2 separate regions of the Homo sapiens genome follow, and region 2 is linked to region 1. The links are contacts of gene promoters, found by promoter capture Hi-C in human tissues and cell types (Jung and others, 2019). All regions are on one chromosome and are shown on one strand. The core of a region is centred on a gene start or on the middle of the fragment in contact, and the rest is flanking DNA. Distances in the headings are between cores, read along the strand shown. Region 1 holds the start of KRTAP5-10 (keratin associated protein 5-10). Region 2 overlaps SHANK2 (SH3 and multiple ankyrin repeat domains 2).

Evidence for each region. The method cuts DNA at HindIII sites, captures the fragments that hold promoters and counts their contacts. A contact is called where the count stands out against the background at its distance.
Region 2: a fragment that was not itself captured here is called in contact with the fragment with the promoter of KRTAP5-10 in region 1 in 2 of the 25 tissues and cell types used here (IMR-90 fibroblasts and mesendoderm cells).

What each region holds. Positions count from the first base shown.
Region 1 is chr11:71,564,280-71,567,851 of GRCh38, forward strand. It overlaps KRTAP5-10 (keratin associated protein 5-10), which reads left to right and starts at 1,284. Exons shown (of 1, transcript NM_001012710.2): 1 at 1,284-2,456. The coding sequence starts at 1,309. The coding sequence ends at 1,917. RefSeq lists an enhancer at 1,671-2,486. The HindIII fragment of the contact is 12,390 bases long and covers 1-3,572 here.
Region 2 is chr11:71,121,470-71,124,772 of GRCh38, forward strand. The region is part of intron 3 of SHANK2 (SH3 and multiple ankyrin repeat domains 2); the gene reads right to left. Among named protein-coding and RNA genes, the nearest start is that of SHANK2, 130 kb to the right of the region's middle. The HindIII fragment of the contact is 5,106 bases long and covers 1-3,303 here.

The sequences.
Region 1 (3,572 bases), core at 34-2,533:
GAGCAGCTGCAGGGGGTGAACCCTGCAAAGTCACGAGGGTGGAGTTCCCCAAGGCCTTAGGAGTCCACCCCTCACTCCAGTGTACCCTGGATGTGGGACTGGGAGTCCAAGGACATTATTTTGGAGCTTTAAGATTTAATGGCTGCCCTGCTGGATTTCAGACATGCATGGGGTCCGTAGCCCCTTCCTTTGGGCTGACTTCTCCCTTTTGGAATGGGAATGTTTACCCAATGCTTCTACCCTCATTGCATCTTGTAAGTAAATAATGTATTTTGATTTTCACAGGTTCATAGGTAGAAGGAACTTGGACTTGGGACTTCAGACTTGATGTTGGAATGAGTCAAGACATTGAGAGGACTGTTGAGAAGAGATGATCCTATTTTGTGATGTAAGGACATGAGATTTGAGGGGTCAGGGGGATAATGACATAGTTGGGCTGTCCCCTCCAAATCTCTTGTCGAAATGTAATCCCCAGTGTTGAAGGAGGGGCCTGCAAGGAGGTGTTTAGGTCATGGGGGCGGATCCCTCATAACTGGCTTAGCGCCATCTCCTTGGCGATGAGTGTGTTCACTCAGATCTGGTTGTTCGCAAGTGTGTGGCCCCTCCTCACCCCTTGCTCCCATTCTCACCATGTGGCGTGCCTACTCCTGCTTCGCCTTCCACCATGAGGAAAACCTCCCTGAGGGCCTCCCCAGAAGCTGAGCAGAGGTGGGTGCCATGCTTGTGCAGCCTGCAGAACCATGAGCCATTCTAACCTCTTTCCTTTATAAATTACCCAGCCTCAAGTATTTCTTTAGAGCAATGCAAAGAATGGTCTAACACACCCAGAAAGCTGAGACTGGTATGAGTAAAATATAAAGACCATGGATAACTTTTGAAATCTGAAAATGTAAAATTAATATTACTGGGGGAGTTAACACAGGAAAGATGAGAGCATGTGGGCAGAGGCTGTTGCCCATTGGTCACATGTGGTCAGCAGAGAGCAGGTGACCAGCACCCTGGAGCTTTGCAAGAAGTACCAGACAGCCTGGAGTTGAGGTTTTAATTATAGGGGCCAAAACAAACGGGGAAAAAGACAAATTTAGCATACAAAGAAAGTAGATGCTCAACTGAGCCAGGAGGAAGTCACTAGCAAAAAGGAAAAAAACAGAGCTCTGGAAAAATAATGTAAACAGTCACAAGAAAGGGACCCTGTGTCCTGCCTGACATCTGGACAGGTATATAAAGAGCCCGGGCTCAGGGAGCTCCACACCTGCACCTCCCTCTCACCTGCTCCTCTACCTGATCCACCCTCAATCTACCAGAATCATGGGCTGCTGTGGCTGCTCCGGAGGCTGTGGCTCCGGCTGTGGGGGTTGTGGCTCCGGCTGTGGGGGCTGTGGCTCCGGCTGTGGGGGCTATGGCTCTGGCTGTGGGGGCTGTGGCTCCAGCTGCTGTGTGCCCGTCTGCTGCTGCAAGCCCGTGTGCTGCTGTGTGCCAGCCTGTTCCTGCTCCAGCTGTGGCTCCTGTGGGGGCTCCAAGGGGGACTGTGGCTCTTGTGGGGGCTCCAAAGGGGGCTGTGGTTCCTGTGGGGGCTCCAAGGGGGGCTGTGGCTCCTGTGGGGGCTCCAAGGGGGGCTGTGGTTCTTGTGGGGGCTCCAAGGGGGGCTGTGGCTCCTGTGGGGGCTCCAAAGGTGGCTGTGGTTCCTGTGGGGGCTCCAAGGGGGGCTGTGGTTCTTGTGGCTGCTCCCAGTGCAATTGCTGTAAGCCCTGCTGCTGCTCCTCAGGCTGTGGATCCTGCTGCCAGTCCAGCTGCTGCAATCCCTGCTGCTGCCAGTCCAGCTGCTGTGTCCCCGTGTGCTGCCAGTCTAGCTGCTGCAAGCCCTGCTGCTGTCAGTCCAGCTGCTGTGTCCCCGTGTGCTGCCAGTGTAAGATCTGAGGCTCTGAACCCAGACCTTCAGGTTTCACCTGTTTGGTGAAAGCATTTGTTATGATTTCCCTGAATTAATTCATCCCACGCATCCTCCCTGAGGCACCTGCCCCTTCTCCAGCTCATCATCCATGCACGCACCTCCTTCCATGGCTCAGCTCTCCACTGGGCCCTGCCTTCAGCCTCCTCACTCCGGAAATGCATGTTTCCTTGATGCAGGAGGTGGCCTTGCCTGGACGCGGGCACCCAGCCAACTGCCATGGTGTTCCCTGCACTTGGGTGTGGACCATCTTCTTCTTCTCCCTCGGCTGACTGAGATGCAAGGTCTGACCCCACAAGGCCAGGCCAATGTTGCTCAGTGATCACTAAGAACCAGCTTCTCAACCACCATTGGGACCCTGGATCCTCCAGGGCCGCTCGCTGCCTGTTCTCCAGTGGCCACCTGTGACCAGGAAGGTCTCCTTCCTTCCTGTTGTCTCCATCTATTTAAAAACAATAACAAAGTAATGAATGAATTTCCTTACAATAAAGCCTCTCATGTCTGTAAATCAGCTGCATGCTTGGTGCAATTCTGTCCAACCCCTTTCCTGTGCAGTGACTGATTCTGCGTTCTGATCTGTCAGCTAAGCTGGGAAACGCCTGCCAGCAGGCCTGGTACATTCACAAAAAAACCTGCCATTCCCTTCTGTCCTCCTCTCAGCCTCAAATATCTTCAGTCTCTGCTCGCAGGAGAAGAGGGCAAAGCCCGGGAGGATTCAGCATTCAATGCCCGCCCTAGAGGCGCAGAGGGGCAGGCAGGCCCTGAGTCCTGACGACCAGCCAAGCAGGGCTTTGCACAAGACCCATGGCTTCCAGCTTCCCGCTCTCCTCTGGGGCCTCGGAAGGACCCCAGGCAGGGCAAGGTCGGAGGAGGGAGGAGTGAAGCACCGCTGAGCTCCAACGCACTCTGATTCAAACATTCAATTAGCCTTTTACAATTATGAGGTCAACGGCTTTCCATAACTAAAGGTAACCAGGAAGTTACAGAATGGCCCAAGGTGTCCTCGGAGCTCAGTCTCCCGGCAGGAAAGGAGAGTTCCTGGGAAGTGACACATTTGGGGACCCTGAGCCAAGTCCATCTGTTTCATGGTGACATGCCACCACGCTGAGCCTGTTCTCTGACCAGTGTCACAGGCAAGGCTTTAGAAATCACGCACTGGGGAGGAGGAGACAAGAGTGATCTGAGGACAATCTCCAGCCAAGCGAACCCGGAGGGAAAAGGTGGAGGGAAGACAGCACACAGGGAGTGCTGGTGAGAAATGAGCTCCCACAGAACACTCACAGATCTAAGCGACTGCTGATACTGCCGGGGAAGAGCAGAGTGGGAATTTCCAAGACAAATTTCTGAGAGAAAAGAGATGCAATGTAAGGAAAAATGAAATAATCTAGAAATAAAGGCTTAGATTAATTCAGCCACATTTAGGAAAGGGAATAAAAGTGTGTCAAAGGTGCATCTTGCTAGGGGACATGGCTATCGTTAGTTTCACGACGTTAAAAGGAAATGCTGCTTAAGACAGTTCACTCAAAAATCCAAACTGGGAAACTCCAGAAGGTGACAGCAGACATGAACGCAGAGTTCATTACATATGGGCCCTGTACATTCCCACAACCCACAGGACACCGAG
Region 2 (3,303 bases), core at 266-2,765, 440 kb before region 1:
TTGTCAGATGGACAGATTGCAAAAATTTTCTCCCATTCTGTAGATTGCCTGTTCACTCTGATGGTAGTTTCTTTTGCTGTGCAGAAGCTCTTGAGTTTAATTAGATCCCACTTGTCTATTTTAGCTTTTGTTGCCATTGTTTTTGGTGTTTTAGTCATGAAGTCCTTGCCCATGCCTATGTCCTGAATGGTACTACCTAGGTTTTCTTCTAGTGTTTTTATGGTTTTAGGTCTAACATTTAAGTCTTTAATCCATCGTGAATTAATTTTTGTATAAGGTGTAAGGAAGGCATTCAGTTTCTTCTGCAAAGAACTTAAACAAATTTATAAGAAAAAATCAAACAACCCCATCAAAAAGTGGGCAAAGGATATGAACAGACACTTTTCAAAAGAAGACATTTATGCAGCCAACAGACACATGAAAAAATGCTCATCATCACTGGTCATCAGAGAAATGCAAATCAAAACCACAATGAGATACCATCTCACACCAGTTAGAATGGCGATCATTAAAAAGTCAGGAAACAACAGGTGCTGGAGAGGATGTGGAGAAATAGGAATGCTTTTACACTGTTGGTAGGAGTGTACACTAGTTCAACTGTTGTGGAAGACAGTGTGGCAATTCCTCAAGGATCTAGAACTAGCAATACCATTTGACCCAGTGATCCCATTACTGGGTATATACCCAAAGGATTATAAATCATGCCACCATAAAGACACATGCACACGTATGTTTACTGCGGCACTATTCACAATAGCAAAGACTTGGAACCAACCCAAATGTCCATCAATGATAGACTGGATTAAGAAAATGTGGCACATATACACCATGGAATACTATGCAGCCATAAAAAAGAATGAGTTCATGTCCTTTGAAGTGACATGGATGAAGCTGGAAACCATCATTCTGAGCAAACTATCGCAAGGACAGAAAACCAAACACTGCATGTTCTCACTCATAGGTGGGAATTGAACAATGAGAACACTTGGACACAGGGCAGGGGAACATCACACATGGGGGCCTGTCTTAGTGTGGAGGGTTGGGGGAGGGAAAGCATTACGAGAAATACCTAATGTAAATGACGAGTTAATGGGTACAGCAAACCAACAAGGCACATGTATACATATGTAACAAACCTGCACATTGTGCACATGTACCCTAGAACTTAAAGTATAATTTTAAAAAAAAGTGAGAAAATCTGGACACGGCATCATGCACACGGGGAGACGACCACGTGAATGGGAAGGCAGAGACTGGTGTGTCCCATCTGCAAACCCAGCAATGCTAAGATTTCTGGTAAGCCCCCAGAAGCTGGGGTAGAGGTAGAGAATCTGGGACAGATTCCCCCTCAAGCCTCAGAAGGAACCAACCTTGCCTACCCCTTGACCTTGGACTTCCAGCCTCCAGAATTTGAGACAATACGTGTCTGGGATTTAAGGCACCAGTCTGTGGTTGGTTATGGCAGGCATGGGAACTCATAAACGTGTGAATCACCTGCCACTAATTGTGGCAGCAAAAAAACAGCAGCATCATCATCTCTGAGAGCGGAACTCAGCAGGTCGAGCATTCCCAGCTCCCAGGGAGCTCCCCTCCCTCCATACGTGATGGGAGCCACCCACGTGTTCACACCAGCTCCCGGCAAGCCCACGACGTCAGAAGACACTTTGGATGAATCCTACTTCAATTCTTCACCTACCCATCATTGACTCACTGTCCAATCAGGCAAACCCCAGGTCCAAGAGCAGGCCTGACACAGTACAGGTGACTGACACTGGCTGAATGATGTGGGAGCCACAAAGACAATAAATAAGAAGCAAACCAGCCTGAGGTCACCATTTGTAGTGGGGAAAAACACCTACTCAACTGTCACACAATATGGAAAAGGTAAAAATCCATGCTAACACGAGCTCCCTTGGGGACCCAGAGGAAGGAGTAAGTGACGCTGCTTGGTAAGGAGCACACATCATAGGCTGCTGCCCAGGAATACAGAGGGATATGCGAGTCTGGGGTAGGACTTCCAGGTTGAGGGCCCATCATAAGGAGAGGGAGGGAGGCAAAGGTAGAACAGCGATGAGTCTAGCAGGTGGATGGCCCAAGACAGTTTCTGCCTTAAGTGACCCTTCCTGGTCCCACTGTTACCAGTGTGAGCCTTGGTCATGTCAAGTTCTCCTTGAGGAGAACAGTATCTGATTCTGGTCTCCCCACAGCCCTGCGAGGTGGCTATTCCTTTATAATTTGTTAGAGATGTTCTGAGTGAGTGAGTGATTTGTTAGATGACTCACAGATAGTACAGAAAGGATGGCAAAGACAACAGTGTATAGGAAGTCCCAACCCTGGCCAACTCCTCTAAAGGATTACTGGAGGAAACAACTCTCTTCTCCTTGAGCTTCTATCTTCTGTGCACAGGGTCCTATACCAGCACCAGGACAGGAGTGGGTGAGAGGACACGAAGATGACCAAGATGTGCTCTTGCCCCTTAAAGAGTTCAGTGTCTACAGGGAGGGGATGATGATGATGGTGGTGATGCTGATGATGAGGGTGGTTGTAATGGTGATGATGGTGGTGGTAGTGGTGGCAGTGATGGTGGTGATAATGGTGATGATGGAGATGTTGGTAATGGCGATGATAGTGATCATGATGGTGATGATGGTGATGGTGATTGATGGTGATAATGGTGATGATGGTATTATGATAGCGATGATGGTGATGGTGATGATGGTGATGGTGATGATGGTGGTGATGATGATGGTGACAATGATGGTATGATGATAGTGATAATGGTGATGATGTTGGTGAAGGGGATGGTAGTGATGATGATGGTGATGGTGACAATCATGATGATAGTGATGGTGATCATAATGAGGATGATGATGGTGATGATGACAGTGGTCACTGCAATGATGACAGTAGTGGTGATGATGAAGATGATGGTGATGACAGTGATAATGATAACCATGACACAGTGATGATTACCATGTATTGAATCCTAATAAGCCAGAAATTACGCTAACCTTATCACCTTCACCACAACCCTAAGTGGATATTATTATTACTTTTTGTATAATATTATTATTACTGTTTATATAATAATATTATTCTCATTCTCTAGATAAAGAAGCTGAGCCTCAGAGACTCCAAGTAACTACCCCAAGGTCACACTTCTAGAAAGCAGTAGAGGTTTGGTTTAAACCCAAGTCAAATCTCCCCATCTCCCGAGTTCTTGCTGTTCAAGTGATAGATGATGTTCCTCTCTATACACACCCACTGCCAATCTTAGTGCAGGCAAATCATAAATTAGAGGCA